7 separate regions of the Homo sapiens genome follow, and all the other regions are linked to region 7. The links are contacts of gene promoters, found by promoter capture Hi-C in blood cells and fetal thymus (Javierre and others, 2016). All regions are on one chromosome and are shown on one strand. The core of a region is centred on a gene start or on the middle of the fragment in contact, and the rest is flanking DNA. Distances in the headings are between cores, read along the strand shown. Region 1 has its middle 6.9 kb from the start of C16orf87. Region 2 has its middle 34 kb from the start of DNAJA2. Region 3 overlaps DNAJA2 (DnaJ heat shock protein family (Hsp40) member A2). Region 4 has its middle 48 kb from the start of DNAJA2-DT. Region 5 overlaps MYLK3 (myosin light chain kinase 3). Region 6 overlaps NETO2 (neuropilin and tolloid like 2). Region 7 holds the start of LONP2 (lon peptidase 2, peroxisomal).

What was found. The method cuts DNA at HindIII sites, captures the fragments that hold promoters and counts their contacts. A CHiCAGO score of 5 or more calls a contact.
Region 1: a fragment that was not itself captured here is called in contact with the fragment with the promoter of LONP2 in region 7 in 1 of 17 cell types (M2 macrophages); the score reaches 5.2 in M2 macrophages.
Region 2: a fragment that was not itself captured here is called in contact with the fragment with the promoter of LONP2 in region 7 in 1 of 17 cell types (total B cells); the score reaches 5.5 in total B cells.
Region 3: a contact is called between a fragment that was not itself captured here and the fragment with the promoter of LONP2 in region 7, in 4 of 17 cell types (non-activated CD4 T cells, naive CD8 T cells, total CD4 T cells and 1 more). The highest score is 6.9, in non-activated CD4 T cells.
Region 4: a contact is called between a fragment that was not itself captured here and the fragment with the promoter of LONP2 in region 7, in 3 of 17 cell types (naive CD8 T cells, total B cells and total CD4 T cells). The highest score is 6.2, in naive CD8 T cells.
Region 5: a contact is called between a fragment that was not itself captured here and the fragment with the promoter of LONP2 in region 7, in 1 of 17 cell types (total CD4 T cells). The highest score is 5.1, in total CD4 T cells.
Region 6: a contact is called between a fragment that was not itself captured here and the fragment with the promoter of LONP2 in region 7, in 2 of 17 cell types (monocytes and total B cells). The highest score is 6.0, in monocytes.

Annotation. Positions count from the first base shown.
Region 1 is chr16:46,836,736-46,839,435 of GRCh38, forward strand. No RefSeq gene overlaps it. Among named protein-coding and RNA genes, the nearest start is that of C16orf87, 6.9 kb to the left of the region's middle. The HindIII fragment of the contact is 1,661 bases long and covers 552-2,212 here.
Region 2 is chr16:46,938,418-46,941,117 of GRCh38, forward strand. No RefSeq gene overlaps it. Among named protein-coding and RNA genes, the nearest start is that of DNAJA2, 34 kb to the right of the region's middle. The HindIII fragment of the contact is 1,765 bases long and covers 502-2,266 here.
Region 3 is chr16:46,955,443-46,958,375 of GRCh38, forward strand. It overlaps DNAJA2 (DnaJ heat shock protein family (Hsp40) member A2), which reads right to left. Exons shown (of 9, transcript NM_005880.4): 9 at 1-1,778. The coding sequence ends at 1,587. Among named protein-coding and RNA genes, the nearest start is that of DNAJA2, 17 kb to the right of the region's middle. The HindIII fragment of the contact is 197 bases long and covers 1,210-1,406 here.
Region 4 is chr16:47,020,082-47,022,781 of GRCh38, forward strand. No RefSeq gene overlaps it. Among named protein-coding and RNA genes, the nearest start is that of DNAJA2-DT, 48 kb to the left of the region's middle. The HindIII fragment of the contact is 4,553 bases long and covers 1-2,700 here.
Region 5 is chr16:46,701,247-46,703,966 of GRCh38, forward strand. It overlaps MYLK3 (myosin light chain kinase 3), which reads right to left. Exons shown (of 13, transcript NM_182493.3): 13 at 1,036-2,720. Among named protein-coding and RNA genes, the nearest start is that of ORC6, 13 kb to the left of the region's middle. The HindIII fragment of the contact is 2,295 bases long and covers 107-2,401 here.
Region 6 is chr16:47,120,987-47,123,705 of GRCh38, forward strand. It overlaps NETO2 (neuropilin and tolloid like 2), which reads right to left. Exons shown (of 9, transcript NM_018092.5): 5 at 1,882-1,926; 6 at 1,671-1,798. It overlaps LOC124903806 (small nucleolar RNA U13), which reads right to left and starts at 35; the gene lies at 1-35. The HindIII fragment of the contact is 1,446 bases long and covers 584-2,029 here.
Region 7 is chr16:48,242,922-48,245,621 of GRCh38, forward strand. LONP2 (lon peptidase 2, peroxisomal) reads left to right here and starts at 1,379. Exons shown (of 15, transcript NM_031490.5): 1 at 1,379-1,700. The coding sequence starts at 1,468. All of the region lies in intron 1 of ABCC11 (ATP binding cassette subfamily C member 11), which reads right to left. RefSeq lists an enhancer at 1,315-1,404. The HindIII fragment of the contact is 24,694 bases long and covers 1-2,700 here.

The DNA.
Region 1 (2,700 bases), core at 132-2,631, 1.4 Mb before region 7:
TCACCTAATGACACCTTTCTCAGAACATTTCCCCATCGTTAAGTGACTCATGACTGTGCATACAACAAAATATTATTTAGCCATAAAAAGGAAATTCTGACACCACAACATGGATGAACCTCAAAGACAGGATGCTAAGTGAAATAATTCAGACACAAAATACCAAATATTGTATGATTCTACTTAGATGAGAGACCTAGCGTCATGAAATTCATAGAAACTGAAAGTAGAACAGTGGTTGTCAGGGCCTAGAGGAAGGAGGGAAGGGGACATTATTGTTTAATGGGTATGGAGTTTCAGTATGGGATGATGAAAATGTTCTGGCAATGGATGCTGGTGATGATTGCACAACAATGCCAACGTACTTAATGACACTAAACTATACATTTTTAAATGGCTAAAATGGTAAATTTTATGTTATGTATATTTTATCACAATCAAAAAGAAAAAATATTCAATCAACTAGGAATACAAGGAAACTTCCTCAACATGTTAAAGGCCATATATGAAAGACCCACAGCCAACATCATATTCAATAGTGAAAGGCTGAAAGCTTTTCCCTTAAGATCAGGAACAAGACAAGGTTGCCTGGTTTCACTTCTATTCCACATAGTATTAGAAGTTCTAGCCAGAGGAAATTAGGCAAGAAAAAGAAATCAGAGGCATCCAAATTAGAAAAGAAGTAGGCTGGGTGCAGTGGCTCACGCCTATAATCCCAACACTTTGGGAGGCCAAGGTGGGCAGGAGTTCAAGAACAGCCTAGCCAACATGGTGAAACTCCGTCTCTACTAAAAATACGAAAATTAGCCAGGTGTGGTGGCACATGCCTGTAATCCCAGCTACTCAGGAGGCTGAGGCAGGATAATCACTTGAACCTGGGAAACAGAGGTTGCAGTGAGCCGAGATCACACCATTGCACTCTAGCCTGGGTGACAGAGCAATGCTCAGTCTCAGGAAAAAAAAAAAAAGTAAAATATTAGGATCATTAAAATACTGAAGATATTAGAAAAATTAGCACATCTGATTGACCAATCCTTGTCTTTAAAAGTTGGCACTTGGCCAGGCACGGTGGCTCACACCTGTAATCCCAGCCCTTTAGGAGGCTGAGGCAGGCGGATCATGAGGTCAAGAGATCAAGACCAGCCTGGCCAACATGGTGAAACCCTGTCTCTACCAAAAATACAAAAATTAGCTGGGAATGGTGGCACGTGCCTGTAGTCCCATCTACTTGGGAGACTGAGGCAGGAGAATCGCTTAAACTTGGGAGACGGAGGTTGCAGTGAGCCAAGATCACGCCCCTGCACCCCAGCCTGGCGACAGAGCGAGATTCCATCTAAAAAAAAAAAAAAAAAAGTTGGCACTAAGCTGGGTACATGCTCATAATTCCAGCTACTCAGGAGGCTGAGGCAGGAGGATCGCTTGAGCCCAGGAGTTTCCGACCAGCCTGCACAATGCAGCGAGACCCCATTTCAGAAAAAAAAAAAAAAAAAGTTGATCTCTCAAAATTGTACTGGAAGTTCTGGCCAGGGCAGTTAGACAAGAAAATGAAATAAGGCATCTAGATTGAAAAGGAAGAAGCAAAACTATCTCTATTTGCAGATGACATTGTCTTATATGTAGAAAATCCTAAGAAGTCAACCTATTATTAGAATGAATAAATGAGTTCAGCAAAGTTGTAGGACACAATATATAAATATCAAATCTATTTCTATACACTTGGACTCAACAATATGATAATGAAATTAATTCCATTTATAATATCATCAAAAAGAATAAAATACTTAGGAGTAAAACAAAAACGTGTAAAACTTATACTCTGAAAACTACAAGACACTGTTGAAAGGAATTAAAGGTCTAAATACATGAAAAGATATCCTGGCTGGGTGTGGTGGCTCACGCCTGTAATCCCAGCACTTTGGGAGGCTAAGGTGGGCAGACTGCTTGAGCCCAGAAGGTTGAGACCAGCCTGGGCAACATAGCTAGACTCTGTCTCTAGTTTTGTTTTGTTTTGTTTTTTTAATGTATTAAAAAAATAAGATATCCCATGTTCCTGGATTGGAGGTCTTAATATTAAAATGGCAATATTCCCCAAATTGATCTGCTGATGAACACAATCCCTATAAAAATCCAGCTGGTTTCTCTGCAGAAATTGACAAAACGATCCTAAAATTCATATAGAAATTACAGGGACTCTGAATTTTTTCCCCAAACAAGCTTGAAAAAGAATAATGAAACAATCTTGAAAAAGAAGAGCAAACCTGAAAGACTCACACTTCCAGATTTTAAACCTAAAAACCTACATAACAAGCAAGTGCAATACTAGCAGAAGGATAGACATACAGATCAGTGGAATAGAGTTGAGTGTCCAGAAACAAACCGCATGCATGGAGGAAGGCAGCCTCTGATCTCCTGGCCAGACTGACTTCACTCACATACCCAATATCTTGGCAGACTGGAATCAACTGGGCTCCTCTCCCTCTCCACATAGACTTAGAGCCTTGCCGTATGGTCTCTCCTTTTACACAGTCAAACCTCTTATGTGGCAGTTTAGGGCTCTAATAACAAGTATTCCAGAGACCAAGGTGGAAGCTGCAAGGCTTTTATGGGCTCAGAAGTCATGGAGAATCGGCCAGGTGTGGTGGCTCACACCTGTAATCCCAGCACTTCGGGAGGCCGGGAGGCTGAGACCAGCCTGGCCAA
Region 2 (2,700 bases), core at 134-2,633, 1.3 Mb before region 7:
TGTAATCTCAATGCTTTGGGTGACTGAGGTGGGAGGATCACTCGAGGCCAGGAGTTTGAGACAAGACTGGGCAACATAGTGAGACCAAGTCTCTACAAAAATAAAATAATTAGCCGGGCATGGTGGTGCATACTTGTAGTCCTAGCTACCCGAGACTACTTCCTGAGGCAGGAAGATGGTTTGAGCCCAAGAGTTGAAGTCTGCAGTAAGCTATGATCACACCACTGTACTCTAGCCTGGGTAACAGAGCAAGACCACATCTTTAAACCAAATGAAAAAAGAAACCCAAAAATAAATTAATTGGGCCTACCTAATGAAGACTGGTGCCATGGACATTTGTTTTTGGTGCAGATCTATATTGACATGTTGGCTCCAGTTAGGAACTAGGACCATTTGGACTCCTTGGCATTTACACAAGGTAAAGTCCTCCCCCAAAAGACCTTTGTGGGGCTTTGTCCTTTTATGGTTAAGTTAAGCTGCTGTTTGCCATTTCTAAACTAAAGCTTTAAAGCAAAATGCCCCCAGTCTTTCGGGCCAGCATCATGAAATACATTGGGTGTCAAAACCCCACTCATTCAAGGAAATATGGTATATAAGTGTGAGCGGCTGGGCACGTGAACCACTGCACCTGGCTGCCTGGAGTTTAATTTAATGGCCTTATCTTTGTTACCTACCAGGGCATCTGAATGAGTGTTGGCATATTTATAGATATGCTAAAGCCTCATGTTATTCATTCATCAAACACTGGCTTAGCAGCTGTGCACCAGGCACAGGGTTAAGTGATGGGGACACAGCAGTGACTAAGACCTGATCCCATGATTTATAAGGTTGATAATACCCCATGCTGGTAAGAGAGGGGAAGCCAACACTGATACACTGTTAGCAGTGGTGTGACTTTATACAACTTTTTTTTTTTTTTTTTGAGACAGTTTCACTCTTGTTGGCCAGGCTGGAGTGTGATGGCTCAGTCTTGGCTCACTGCAACCTCCACCTCCCAGGTACTGCAGCCTCCACCTCCCAGGTTCAAGCGGTTCTCCTGCCTCATCCTCCCAAGTAGCTGGGATTACAGGTGCCCACCACCACACCTGGCTAATTTACGGGGTTTCATCATGTTGGCAAGGCTGGTCACGAACTCCTGACCTCAGGTGATCCACACACCTTGGCCTCCCAAAGTGCTGGGATTACAGATGTGAGCCACCATGCCCGGCCAAATTTATACAACTTTTTGAGAGAGCATTTTGGTATCATCAGCATTCAATATACATATGCCTGTTCTAGGCCAGGTGCGGTGGCTCATTGCTGTAATTCCAGCACTTTGGGAGGCCAAGGTGAGTTGATCACCTGAGGTCAGAAGTTTGAGACCAGTCTGGACAACATGGCAAAAGTCTGTCTCTACTAAAAGTACGAAAATTAGCCAGGCGTGGTGGTGGGTGCTTGTAATCTCAGCTACTTGGGAGGCTGAGGCGCGAGAATCACTTGAACCTAGGGGCGGAGGTTGCAGTGAGCTGAGATCATGCCACTGCACTCCAGCCTGGGTGACACAGCAAGACTGTGTCTCAAAAACAAAAACAAACAAACAAACAAAAAAACATATGCCTGTTCTAAAACTATAGTAATCATCAGCCAGGCTTGGTGGGTCATGCCTGTAACCCCAGCACTTTGGAACGCCAAGGCTGGTGAATCCTTTGAGCCCAGGAGTTTGAGACCAGCCTGGGCAACATAGCGAAACCCCCGTCTCTACAAAAGACAGAAAAATTAGCCAGGTGTGGTAGCATGCGCCTGTAGCCCCAGCTACTTGGGAGACTGAGGTGAGAGGATCACTTTAGTCTGGGAGGCAGAGGCTGCAATGAGCTGAGATTGTGCTACAGCACTCCAGCCTGGGCGACAGAGTGAGACCCTGTCTCAAAAATAAAATAAATAAAACCATAGTAATCAAGACAGTCTGGTACTGCTGAAAGGGCAGACAAATAATGGAACAGAATAGAGTCCAGAAATAGACTCCCATGCATTTATCACTTTGGCATAAAATAGACCACATACATGTGTTGCATGCAATCACACACACGCATATATCTTTCACACACTTATGTTGACGAGTATGCCAAAGTAAACACAATGGAGAAGGAAAGTCTCTTCAATAAATGGCGCTAAAACACTTGGATGCTAAAGCATCCATATGGGGAAAAAATAAGCCTCAATGCCTACCTCTATATATGCTATATTTTAGATGGATTGCAGACCTAAAATTTAAGAGCTAAAATTGTAAAGCTTCTAGAGGAAAACCTAAGAGAATATCTTTGCAACTTTGAGATCCACAAATATTTCTTTCTTTTTTTTTTTTTTGAGACAGAATCACTCTGTCGCCCAGGCTGGAATGCAGTGGCACCATCTCAGCTCACTGCAACTTCTGCTGCCTGGGTTCAAGTGATTCTTCTGTTTCAGCCTCCCAAGTAGCTGGGATTACAGGTGTGAGCCACCATGTCTGGTTAATTTTTATATTTTTAGTAGAGATGGGGTTTCACCATGTTGGCCAGGCTGGTCTTGAACTCCTGACCTCGAGAGACCCACCTGCCTTGGCCTCCCAAAGTGCTGGGATTATAGGCGTGAGCCACCATGCCCAGCCAGAGACATGGAAATATTTTTTAGGATAAAAAGGCACAAATTGGCTGGGCTCGGTGGCTCACGCCTGTCATACTAGCA
Region 3 (2,933 bases), core at 58-2,557, 1.3 Mb before region 7:
AAGTAACCTTGGATACAAAACTACTATGCTGTTGAATCTTACCCAGGCTTGTTGTAAAATATTTTTTGTACAATGGAGGTAGAGTGGATAGGTCAATAATTTAAACCTCACAGGACTTGATTAGTGTCAGCACACCTTTTTTCATTCAGGTTTTCAGGTTCTAGCAGACCTAGAAATAAACTACAAATACTAGATTTAGGCTCAGGGATGGCATTTAATACATTTAAAATTTTTAGTTTTCAGTTTTCCCCATTTGTTCCTTTATAAATGTAAAATTGTGCATCTGATGTCTCTTTCCTCAAATAAGTGTGTTCTAAAAATACCTACTGAGTGAAATGGTAAAAACCAGATGATGGAAAGAGAAACACAACATCCGTTTCATCAATTTTACCTGATTTTTCTCAAACCAGCCTTTTTTTTTTGCTTATTTTTAGTTTGAAATATAAATAACTACAACAATGCATATTTCAGTTGCCTTCATTCTTAAATTCTGAATAAGCATCTTACTTTTCTATAAAACATTACAGAAACTCAAAATAATAATCAATGGCTTCTCCAATTCCAAATATTCAACTTAATGGAGACAGCATCTTTTACATTTAATGAAAACAGAGGATTTGAACACGTTCTATGCAGACATGGTTTTACTATAGATTTGCTGTTACCTTATTTTTTTAAGGGGGTGGTGGTAGGGAGATACAGAAGTCAGGCTAGCCCAGTGCTTGGGAGTTACAGCACTCAAGACACCCTGGCCTCTACAGAGCATCACTGAAGCCACTGAAGACTGTCTCTACCAGCCTTTTGTCTTCCAAGACTATAAGATGGGCATAGGCCTGAGATATAAGCTTCAGGCCAATGGGTTTTTATGGGCTGTTTAAGAACCAGTACTAAGGATACATTCTTTTATGTTTTTCCTTCTAAAAATGTGACACAAAAGAATAATTTACACCAACCGCTTTTTATTATCGAGTTTCAGAAACCTTTCACAAGATGGTAAAAAAAAAAAAAAAGAAAAAAGAAAAAAAAAACAAAACCAAAAACAAAAAAACTTTACAACCACAGCTAATGTAATTTTTTCCATTGTTCCCAGTCAGCTCCAAACCCATTGTGTGCAAAGCCCATTTTTTTCCATGCATCTAAATGATAGATACAGGCTATGAAATTCTTTATTCTATTTGTAGCAGCTTATGCAGGTGCAGCCAAACACAAAGCTTCAGGACAAATTGTACAAACTTTACAATGTGGGATTTAAATTTAAAATATGAAACATAAAAATCTACACAAAACTGATAAAAATCAAGCACAGATACCAGGATTGAAACTTATAATAATCCATGTGTGAAAGGGAGTCTTGTTTCCTTTCAAGTGCTTTATTCTGCTATGGAACAGTCAAAATGAAGATGTAAAGCTTTGTGGTTAGTTTAAATTATACACTCTGTAGATACTATACCAATTTTAAAAGTTATACATAGACCAACAGATGTCCCTCAGTTCATCTGGATTGATAAGACACTCCAGCTGGATTGCTGAGAACAAATCAGGCAAATGTGGAAAGAAAATCCACCTGTGCAATTTGTTTGCAGAGTTTACTGATGGGCACACTGCACTCCAGGTCCATGATGGCTGCTGCTTTCTTCATCAGAGCTATCATTATAGGCTTCACGCCTCTGACCACCTCCTGAGCCTCGAGTGCTATCAAATTCCTGAAGCTCTACCTCCTCTGTTTCTCCAATTATGTTAGGAACTTCCGGTCTAGATGGCAGAAGATCTTCTAGTTCCTTTATTAAAACAAACAAAAACCAGGTTGGTTGTAATATTTTCATCAACTTTCCTTTTGATACATAGAATCCAGTGTCTGTTTAAGAGTTTAAAAAGGGGCTGGGTGTGGTGGTTCATGCTTATAATCCCACCCAGCACTTTGGAAGGCTGAGGCGGGCGGATAATGAGGTCAGGAGATGAGACCAGCCTGGACAACATGGTGAAGCCTTGTCTCTACTAAAAATACAAAAAATTAGCCAGGCATGGTGGTGGGTACCTGTAATCCTAGCTAGTCAGAAGGCTGAGGCAGGAGAATCGCTTGAACCTGGGAGGTGGAAGTTGCAGTAAGCTGAGATTGTGCCACTGCACTCCAGCCTGGGTGACAGAGCAAGACTCCATCTCAAAAAAAAAAAAGTTAAAAAAAGGAATGTGGACTGGACTTTGAACTCTAAGTAAAAGATCACAAACTCATCACTCACAGGCCAAATTCTGCAGACATCTTTTGTGCAACCCATCTATTGCTTTAAGAACCAAAAAAAAGGTCATTATCTGCCAATACTTAAACATTAGAAAGTTTCTACAGGAGACACACCTTCCTGCATCCGGCATGGACACCAGCTTACGATAAAGGGGTAGTGGTCCTGCCCTCTGCAAATGAGGAACCTGTTCTCTCCAGGGAGTGCTACTCCTCATCACCACCCACACCGGGTCTACTTTACTCCTCTACAATTCCCTGCTTGGCCCCATCAACATTTACACCAGCAATACCCCATTTCCTAACAACTAGGAAAGCCTACCAATCACACAAATATACTTTAAAATTGAAAGTAACATGACTATTAAGAAACTTGAAGTCGGCTGGGTGCAGTGGCTCACGACTGCAATCCCAGAACTTCGGGAGGCAGGAGGATTGCTTGAGACCAGTCTGGACAACATAGCAACATCTCTATAAAAAGTTTTAAAAAGCATTAGCCAGGTGTGGTGGTACACACCCGTAGCAAGCCATGATCATGCCACTGCACGCCAGCCTGGGCAACAGAGCGAGACTCTCTTAAAAAGAAAGAAACTTGGCTGGGTGCAGTGGCTCACGCCTGTAATCCCAGCACTTTGGGAGGCCGAGGCAGGTGGATCATGAGGTCAGGAGATCGAGACCATCGATCTAACATGGCTAACAT
Region 4 (2,700 bases), core at 117-2,616, 1.2 Mb before region 7:
TTACCTCAGCCTCCTGAGTAGCTGGGACTACAGGCACCTGCTACCACACCCTGCTAATTTTGTTTTTGTATTTTTAGTAGAGATGGGGTTTCACCGGGTTAGCCAGGATGGTCTCGATCTCCTGACCTTGTGATCTGCCCGCCTTGGCCTCCCAAAGTGCTGGGATTATAGGCATGCGCCATTGCACTCGGCCAGGATATTTTTTCTTTATAATTTACACTTAATTTAAAACAAGCCTTGGCAAATTAGCAAATGTTCTATTGATTTATTATTAGTCATTTGTTTGTTTGTTTTTGAGACAAAATCTTGCTCTGTAGCCCAGGCTGGAGTGCAGTGGCACAATCTCAGCTCACTGTAACCTCTGCCTCCCAGGTTCAAGCGATTCTCCTGCCTCAGTCTCCGAGTAGCTGGGATTACAAGCATGCACCACCACACCTGGCTAATTTTGTATTTTCAGTAGAGATGGGGTTTCACCATGTTGGTCAGGCTAGTCTTGAACTCCTGACCTCAAGCAATCCATCCTCCTCAGCCTCCCAAAGTGCTGGGATTACAAGTGTGAGCCACCATGCCCGGCCTTTATTATTAGTCTTTTTTTTTTTTTTTTTTTTTTGAGATGGGAGTCTTCTGTTGCACAGGCTAGAGTGCAGTGGCGCGATCTTGGCTTACTGCAACCTCTGCCTCCTGGGTTCAAGCAATTCTCCTGCCTAAGCCTCCTGAGTAGCCGGGATTACAGGCACCTGCCACTGCGCCTGGCTAATTTTTGTATTTTTAGTAGAGATGTGGTTTCACTATGTTGGCCAGGCTGGTCTTGAACTCCTGACCTCATGATCCATCGCCTTGGCTTCCCAAAGTGCTGGGATTATTATTAGTCTTTTTTAGCATACCTTAAACTTGCAGTTGCTTCACAATCATTTTTGTTGTTCTTCAAGAAATGATAAAAATAAGGGATCCTAGATTCCACGTTCTGCTTTTTAAAAATAAAATAATGAATAAAGCGCCAAAGCCTAGAAGACAATGGGATTGTAAATAGCAAACATTAGGACCATGTGACCTTGAACCATTTGAGAGGAATAACATGGCTCTTCTCATTAAAATTACAAAATAGGCTGGGTGCAGTCGCTCACGCCTGTAATCCTGGCTCTTTAGGAGGCCAAGGCAGGAGAATCACTTGAGACCAGGAGTTTGAGATCAGCCTGGGCAACATAGCAAGACCTCCTCTTTACAAAAATTAACAATAATAAAATTTAGAAGGCTGGACATGATGGCTCATGCCTGTAATCCCACACTTTGGGAGGCCAAGGTGGGTGGATCACTTGAGCCCAGGAATTCAAGACCAGCCTGGGCAAAATGGTTAAACCCCATCTCTATTTATTTATTTGAGACGCAGTTTTGCTGTTGTCACCCAGGCTGGAGTGCAATGGCATGATCTCGGCTTGCTGCAACCTCCGCCTCCCGGGTTCAAGTGATTCTCCTGCCTCAGCCTCCCGAGTAGCTTGGAGTACAGGCGCCTGTCACCACACTTGGCTAATTTCTGTATTTTTAGTAGAGACAGGATTTTACCATGTTGGCCAGGCTGGTCCTGAACTCCTGACTTCAGGAGATCCACTCGCCTTGGCCTCCCAAAGTGCTGGGATTACAGGCGTGAACCACCCTGCCCGGCTCTCTATTTATGTAAAAAAAAAAAAATTCTTGTTTTACAATTTTTTTTTTGAGACAGCATCTTGCTCTGTCTCCCAAGCTAGAATGCAATGGTGCTGTCTCAGCTTACTGCAACCTCTGCCTCCTGGGTTCAGGAGATTCTCCTGCCTCAGCCTCCTGAGTAGCTGGTACTAAAGGTGCGTGCCACCACACCCAGCTAATTTTTGTACTTTTTTGGTACAGACGGGGTTTCACTATGTTGGCCAGGCTGGTCTTGAACTCCTGACCTTGTGATCCGCCCACCTCAGCCTCCCAAAGTGCTGGGATTACAGGCGTGAGCCACCGTGTCCGGCCAATTTTTTTTTTTTTTTTTGAGACAAGGTCTCAGTTTGTTGTCCAGGCTAGAGTACAGTGGTGTGATCATGGCTCACTGTAACCTCCACCTCCTGGTTCAAGCGATTCTCATGCCTCAGCCTCCTAAGTAGCTGGGATTACAGGCGCCCACCACCACACCTGACTAATTTTTGTATTTTTGTAGAGATGAGGTTTCACCATGTTGGCCAGGCTGGTCTTGAACTCCTGACCTCAAGTGATCTACCTGCCTTGTCCTCCCAAAGTGCTGGGATTACAGGTATGAGCTACTGTACCTGGCCTATTTTAAAATTATTTTTTTAAAAAAGAAGGAAAATACTAGGTGTGGCCCATATAGGGTGAGATGGAGGTTAAGCTCCACTTCCTGGCGGGGAGCATCAACATGCATTCTTCTTCGAGGAAGATTTGTCTCTTCTATTTATTAATCTTTTCCGTCATAAATAAATTATGATCTTCTGGGACGCAGTGTATGGACGCAAGTGTATTTATGTTATATTTTAGGTTATAGTCCAGTACTATCATTATTTTGTTGCTCAGATTATTCCAGCTTCGGCTGTTGGAGTTCTTTCCGGTTGGCCCTGGGGTCCCTGTGACCTGCCCACACGCCCCGATCTTTTTTGTTTTTTAAGCTCTTTTAAACTTTCTGGCATTGCAAGATGCTCCAGGCTTATCTTGTATTTGCCTTGCTCT
Region 5 (2,720 bases), core at 4-2,503, 1.5 Mb before region 7:
ATGCACAGAAGCTTTTAATTTTGATATAGTCCAATTTATGTTTACTTCTGTGGTCTGTACTCTTGCTATCATATCCAAGAAATCATTGCCAAATCCAATGTCATGAAGCTTTTCCCTTGTTTTCTTCTAAGAGTTAAATGGTTTAAGCTCTTACATTTAGGTCTTTAATCCATTTTGAGTTAATCAGGCACATTCACTTTTAAATTACCCTGTTAAGATGTGATTCTGATAAATCTAAAATTTCTGAGCCTTGTTTAAATAGCATATGAGAATAAATATAAGTAGTATTGTCTGTTTTTTCTTTATGCCATGAAAGCAAGTAATGGTAATTATTTTTATTATTTGCAATATAATATGTACTTAGTTATTTTTTAAATTAGTTGGGGAGTGGAGGAATTACCTTAAAGCAGTCTTGTCCAAATGCCCTCCTAGGAAGCCTTTCTACAGTTTTCTAACACAATTACAATCCCAGTGATGAATGCCGTGATGGTTAATACTGAGTGTCAACTTGATTGGATTGAAGGATACAAAGTTTGATCCTGGGTGTGTTTGTGAGGGTGCTGCCAAAAGAGATTAACATATGAGTCTGGGCTGGGAAATATCCACCCTTATTCTGGTGGACACAATCTAATCAGCTGCCAGCAAATATAAAGCAGGCAGTAAAATGTGAAAAGGAGACACTGGCCTAGCCTCCCAGCCTACATCTTTGTCCTGTGCTGGATGCTTCCTGCCTTCGAACGTCGGACTTCAGGTTCTTCAGTTTTGGAACTCGGACTCGCTCTCCTTGCTCTTCAGCTTGCAGACAGCCTATTGTGGGACCTTGTGATCATGTAAGTTAATACTTAATAAACTCCCCTTTATATACATATATATACACATATTACATATATATACATATTACCTATATACATATTACATATATCTATATATATCCTATTCTGTCCATCTAGAGAACCCTGACTAATACAGATGCTTACTAGTTAGTGAATTCGTGTGTTTCAGTACTGTTATTATAAACACTTCTTGGAAGCTCACTTCTTTAACCGTTCTTCATGGTTTATTTAACTGATTAAAAAGTTTTTTTGTCATGAATGTTTTCAAATACATACAACAGTAAAGAGGACAGTATAATGAAACCCATACACATCACCTAGACCCAAGTTATTAGATGTTGCCATACTTGCTTAACTATACCTTCCTTTTTCTCTGAAGTCATCTAACCACATTGCCAATATCACACCTCACAAAATTAATAGTAACTATCATCAAATGTGAAATTCATAATCTAAATGTCTCAAAAATATCTTTTTATTGCTTGCTCAAATCAGGGTCAACACAAGGTTCACACTTGACATTGAGTTGTGAATTTTTAATTATAAATGTAATACATGCGGGCCAGGCGCAGTGGCTCACACCTGTAATCCCAGCACTTTGGGAGGCCGAGGTGGGCAGATCACGAGGTCAAGAGATCGAGACCATCCTGGCCAGCATGGTGAAAGCCCATCTCTACTAAAAACACAAAAATTAGCTGGGCGTGGTGGCGCATGCCTGTAGTCCCAGCTACTTGGGAGGCTGAGGCAGGAGAAATCACTTGAACTCGGGAGGTGGATGTTGCAGTAAGCCAAGATTGCGCCACTGCACTCCAGCCTGGCAACAGAGTGAGACTCCATCTTGGAAAGAAAAAAAAAAAAAGGAATACATGCTCATTGTAAAAAAAAAAAAAAAAAAGATTCAAAAGGTTCAGAAAGATAAATGAAAAGTGGAATTCCCCCTCTCCCAATCACCCACTTTTCACACTCCACTGTTAAGTTTCTTGCATATCCTACGGTTTTTTAATGCACATATAAGCATATGTCTCTTCACAAATGGGATGATACCATATATACATTCTATAATTTAAGAAAAAATGGCTTTCAGTATATCTAGATCTATCTATAACAGCTGTGAGGTATTCCACTACATGGATGTGGCAAAATTCATTTAACTAAAACCAAACTAATAGGCATGTGTTGGTTGTTTTTACTGGGCCATTAGCAACAGTGCTATAGTAAACATCATTTTGAATAAATCTCTATACAATTGTTCAAGTACGGAGGGATAAATTTCTAGAAATAAAATTTCTGGATGAAAGAAAGCATGGGAATGACTTTTATTTGGATACATATCCATCAAAAGTGGGAGAATGCCATTTTCCCCACAGCCTCACCAATTCTTCACCAATCTGACAGGTGGAAAAAGTGTGCCCCAACTACCTTTTAGAGTTTCTCTGCCCAGCAGTTTCCAGTGACTGTACATGCAAATGGAAAAGTCCCATTAGAAATAGTTGACCCAACACAGTTGCAATCAAGTATTTGAGCTAAGTACACACCAGCAAATTACTAAAAATATCCAGAAAAACTCAAGCTTCATAAAACCTCAAATTTCAAAAAAAGGATGCTAAAATCCACATAGGTCACTTGTGTTGGCCTGGCCTAAACAGACCCCTCAAAGGAACTTTGGAGGGAAATTGTTTCTCTAGGTAAGGAATAACAGCATAAAGGGAAAAAAATTAAAATTGTTAGATACAGGATTCTCTCTAGATCTGCCCTGTCCAATATAGATGCCACTAACCACGTGTGGCTATTAAACACTTAAAATGTGGCTAGTGCAACTGCAGAACTGAATTTCTAATTTTATTTAATTTTAATACATGTAAAAGTGGATACTTCAGTTATTGGAAA
Region 6 (2,719 bases), core at 57-2,556, 1.1 Mb before region 7:
ACATCCGGGCATCAGACTTACACACTACAGAGTATCAGTTATGGAAAATCCCAATAAACTGCCACCTCTTCCAGCGATACACTCTGGGTAATTTCCTCAGACACATCTTTTAATAGCCATACTTTTAACTTATAGACCTCCTATTTGGTTATTTTAAAAATGGACGTGGTCATTTTTCTTTCTCATCTCTGTTTCCTTCTTGTAGGATACGTGAAACACTCAAATTCTTGGGGATCTAAGGAACTCCTTCCTGTGTGTTATGTCGGTGAACTCGTACCCATGGTGGGCTGTGAGCATAGGGGTTTTAGAATCTGCGGGCTGTGAGCTGACCTGCAGCAGTGTTTTATCCATGCCAACCCTGCAGCTTTCTTGGTGACTTTTAGATTTATTTTTGCCAGGTGACTCAAAGGTTTAATGCACCCAGGACCATTCTGTCAGTCTTTGGACTTCATGACTCCTGGGTTGAGCAGGGAATGTAAATTCATTTCTCAAACCCTAATAAAGGCAGGGTTTCTAAGTATAAAGCTAGGGGGGACCCCAGCCTCACCTCCAACCCCACCCTGAGACTAAACCCAGAAAAACAAGCTTCTTTGTCATCAGCATGTGGTAGTGAAACATTTTTTCTAATCTATGCTTTCATGTGAGTTGCCTCCCTTTGAGGGCTCCAGCTTCATGTGAGTCTCACAAAGGCCATGTGAACCCCAGGACTCTTCTTTTCTCAGTATGGGAATTAAAAGGAAGCTCCCAGTATGTCTACCCCTGTGCAGTAACAGGTTATAAAAGTCAGCCAGGGGCATCTGTAACATCAATTTCAGTTTATTAATCTACAGTTCTCTCTCTTCATTTCTCATCCATAAGCATTACCCTCTTTTTCTCCTTCCTGGAGCTTACACATATGCTTTTAAAATAATTATTTGTCATATTTTACCCAATGTTTCCATGTGTCTTCTAGCAGATGGGTTTTCAGGTTACCTTATCTATCATATTACCCAATCTTTAAATCTGATTTTCATGATTCTTGAGAGGTATGTTTTCCCACCCTCACTCTCTCCTCTTTTCCCTCTTTTTACATAATACGCATTAAATATAATTTTAACTCTGTTGATATTCCTAGAAGTATACATTAAATGCAAAAGTATCCAATCTCAATCTGTCAGAGTTATTTAAAAACATCCTTCCCTGCAGTTCTTTCCAATAAAAGCACCCCATGAGTAGCAGAGGATGGCAGGGTAAGAACAGACTCGACACATTTGGGTTTTCGCTTTTAGATTGCTACGACCAACTCTGTAACTTTTGAGAACACATTTTCACCTCTTGTAGCCTATTTTCTTCCTCATAAAGCTGTTAATGAATCTATAATCATACTGATCAGTATGCACACTCACCAATTGGGAACTGACAGGTCTTAAGAATCTTAATCTTTTATAATTGAGAATCTTAATATATATGTAATATTCCTGAAGAATTTCAGAAATTTCAGTTTATTTAACTATAATAATGCTGGGATCTTAGTAGATGCCAATAAAGTAAGTGAAATAAAATACATTTTAAAAAGTTGCAGTATCAGTTTATGTAGTCAATAAATATTTACACAAACCAAAATTACACATTTTGCAAATCATGCCTTATCATGATGTTCTTCTCTGAAGCGACTCAATACATAATAATACCTTAGCTTTTGGAGTGGCTTTAATGGTCCAGATGCAATCAACGGCTTGGCCTGGTTTTGTTTTCTCCTCTTGTTCTACCTGACTAGAGCGCACTATTCCATCAGCTCCCGAGAGCTCGAACTGACAATCTGGAAGGAATACATGAAAGGTGTTCAAAGGAACATAAGACTAATCAAAAATGCCAAGAGGAACAAGTGGTAATATACTAAACCTGGAATGGGATTTAAAATACCTCCTAGGTAAGTAAAGTCTGGATCTGTAACAGAAAAAAGAAGAAAGTCATTGGTACTGAGATAGTTACTTTAATCCTCGATGTCTTACATTACATCTAACGTTCCATTTCATAGCAAGGTAAGAGAAGCTTTCATTGGTGAAAACTACATATCATTGGTCATTTAGGAGCTCGCTTACAGGATTGACATTTATTTAATCACGTTTATATTTTTGATTCCATAGTGAATAATTTATTTATGCTACTTGCAAACTCACATCAACTGTCAGAGTTGAACAGGTAAACGGAACATCACATATACAATATACCAGAATATTATTTGGCCTTAAAAAGGAATGAAGTTCCTTTCTGCTGAATCATATTACAATTTGTCTTCTAAACTTCGGCTTAAATGGATGGTGGTAATAGTTGCATAATACTGTGAATGTACTTAACGCCACTGAATTACACACTTAAAAATGGTTAAAGAGAGCTAGGCATGGTGGCTCATGCCTGTAGTGCCAGCTACTTGGGAAGCTGACCTGGGAGGATCTTTTGAGCCCAGGAGGTTGAGGCTGCAGACAGCAGAGACAGCACTATTGCCCTTCAGCCTAGGTGACAAAATGAGTCTTAAAAAAAAAAAGGTTAAAGGGTAAATTTTGTTATGTATATTTTTTACCACAATAAAAATAAAGTTTTAGAAATTATAAACACAGGTATCTTTAAAAAATTATTTTAAAGTTCAGATAGAACCTGTGTATATACCTAACAGCCAGAATAAAAAAAATTGCTGGGTTGTCTAAAATGTCTCAGATTTCTGGAAAATCTATTTATTTTT
Region 7 (2,700 bases), core at 129-2,628:
GGATACCATTAGGAGATATACCTAATGTAAATGACGAGTTAGTGAGTGCAGCAAACCAACATGGCACATGTATACATATGTAACAAACCTGTACGTTGTGCACATGTACCCTAGAACTTAAACTATAATAAAAAATAAAATTAAATTAAAAACAGAAAAAAAATAAAAGTATCAAGGTTGTAAAAAAAAAAAAAATTGGACGGGCGCAGTGGCTCAGGCCTGTAATCCCAGCACTTTTGGGAGGCCAAGGCGGGCAGATCACGAGGTCAGGAGATTGAGACCATCCTGGCTAACATGGCGAAACCCCGTCTCTACTAAAAATACAAAAAATTAGCCGGGCGTGGTTGCGGGTGCCTGTAGTCCCCAGCTACTCGGGAGGCTGAAGCAGGAGAATGGCATGAACCCGGGAGGCGGAGCTTGCAGTGAGCCGAGATCTCGCCACTACACTCCAGCCTGGGTGACAGAGCGAGACTCCGTCTCAAAAAAAAAAAAAAAAAAAAAAAATTGAGGACTTGCCACAGATTAGAGAACACCTAGGAGATTTCATAACAAAACACCTAGGAGATTTCACAACAGGATCCTGGATATTGGATCCTGGACCAGATCCAATGAAGGACATTAGTGGGAAAACTGGCAAAATTTGGGTAAGGCCTATAGGTTAAACGATAATAATGTTAATTTCCTGGTTTTGATCATTGAACTATGATTATGTAAGATGATAACAGACGAAACTGGGTGAAAGGTATATAGGAACTCTGCTGTAGTTTTGTACATCTAAAATCAATTCGGGCCGGGCACGTTGGCTCACGCCTGTAATCCCAGCACTTTGGGAGGCCGAGGTGGACGGATCGCTTGAGGTCAGGAGTTAAAGACCAGCCTGGCCAACATGGTGAAATCCCCTCCCTACTAAAAATACAACAATTAGCTGGGTGTGGTGGCGGGCATCTGTAATCCCAGCTACTCGGGAGGCTGAGGCAGGAGAATCGCTTGAACCCGGGAGGCAGAGGCTGCAAGCCGTGGGTATCGCGCCATTGCACTCCAGCCTCCGCGACAGAGCGAGAATCTGTCTCAGAATAAATAAATAAATAAATAAATAAATAATTAGTTCGAATCAAAAGTTAAAAACACTTCAAGTATATGTAAAAAATCGAAGAAAACGTTAAAAACACTTCAAGTATATACAATTCAAATAAGATCATCCTTCCAAATATACTCTGTAAGTGAGGCGAAGGTCGCTGCACGCTTGAGTGCACGTCTTTCCGCATAGGTAGGACGCTCAAGTCTTACCGGGAGGCTCTCCTAGAGAGCAGCGCGAAGCCATGGCTTTTGGGCCCGGGGACGGACCGTAGCGCGTAGCCGGAAGCGGAGGCGTGGAGGCGGGTCTGAGGTTTGGTGACTGCGGGGCAGGCCGGGGGCAGCTGTCTGTCTGGCTCTTTTTGACAGCCCCCAGTGCGAAAGGCTGCCAGCATGTCATCAGTGAGCCCCATCCAGATCCCCAGTCGCCTCCCGCTGCTGCTCACCCACGAGGGCGTCCTGCTGCCCGGCTCCACCATGCGCACCAGCGTGGACTCGGCCCGCAACCTGCAGCTGGTGCGGAGCCGCCTTCTGAAGGGCACGTCGCTGCAAAGCACCATCCTGGGCGTCATCCCCAACACGCCTGACCCCGCCAGCGACGCGCAGGACCTGCCGCCGCTGCACAGGTAGGCCTGGCTGCCCCCGCGGCGGCGGCGGGCGGCGCGGCCTCCTCCGGGGACCTGGGCCCAGGCCACGGCCTGCCTTGAGCGCGAGGCTCAGTTCGGGGCGGCCTTCGCGGCTCGGTTCCGCCTCTCTGGTGCTATCACTTGCAAAATGGGGATGTCAGATACCTGCCCCATGACCATGAATGAGATCGTTCATGAAGTAGTGCCTGACACCTGGTGAAACTACGCAGTTCCCTACCGTTCTGGATAATTTAATTTGAATCCTCTTCCCCCTCTCCGCAATTCCTCGCCCTCGGTCTTCAGCCTCCTAGGCCAGTGCTTTTAACTTTCCAGGCCCTTTCTTTCTCCCCGGTGATCTCTGCCTTCACTTGCCTTCGCTTTTCACCTTTCTCCCCACTGCCCTTTACTCCTATCCGCCTCCCCTTTTCTGTCACCCATCATTTTTGTCCGCTGAGGCATTCTCTGCTCCGTGAGTTTTAACTTTTCCTGTTTCATTCCTAAACTGCACTATTTGTGGGTGCCTTTCTTCTATACTCCCTGCCACCCTTCTCCTTCTCCCCCTAATCCTTCTGTTTCCCTTTGTAAAGGGCCTTTACTGCTCACATTTTCGCTGGTCCCCCTTTCTGGAACTTTCCTAGCTTCTCACCTCTGCTCCTTCACTCATAACATTTCTTAGGCCCCAGGCTTACTACTATATTGCCCAGTACCCTCGCCCTATTGGTGTGACTTTGGGTGAGAGCTTTAACCTCTATTTCTTTTATTCTGCAATTTGGAAACTGACAGCATCCATCTCTTAGGCAAGTTATGAAGAATAAATTGAATAATGTGTATATTCCACTTTGCACCATGCATGATGGATGACTTTGCTGTCCAGTACTGTGTAGTGCATGTGGCTCGTCAAATTGAGATGATAGAATTGCCAGTTGTCCTGGTTTGCTGCGATTGTCTGTTTTAGCATTGAAAGTCCTATGTTTTAGCCCCTCCGTCCCAGGGAAACCAG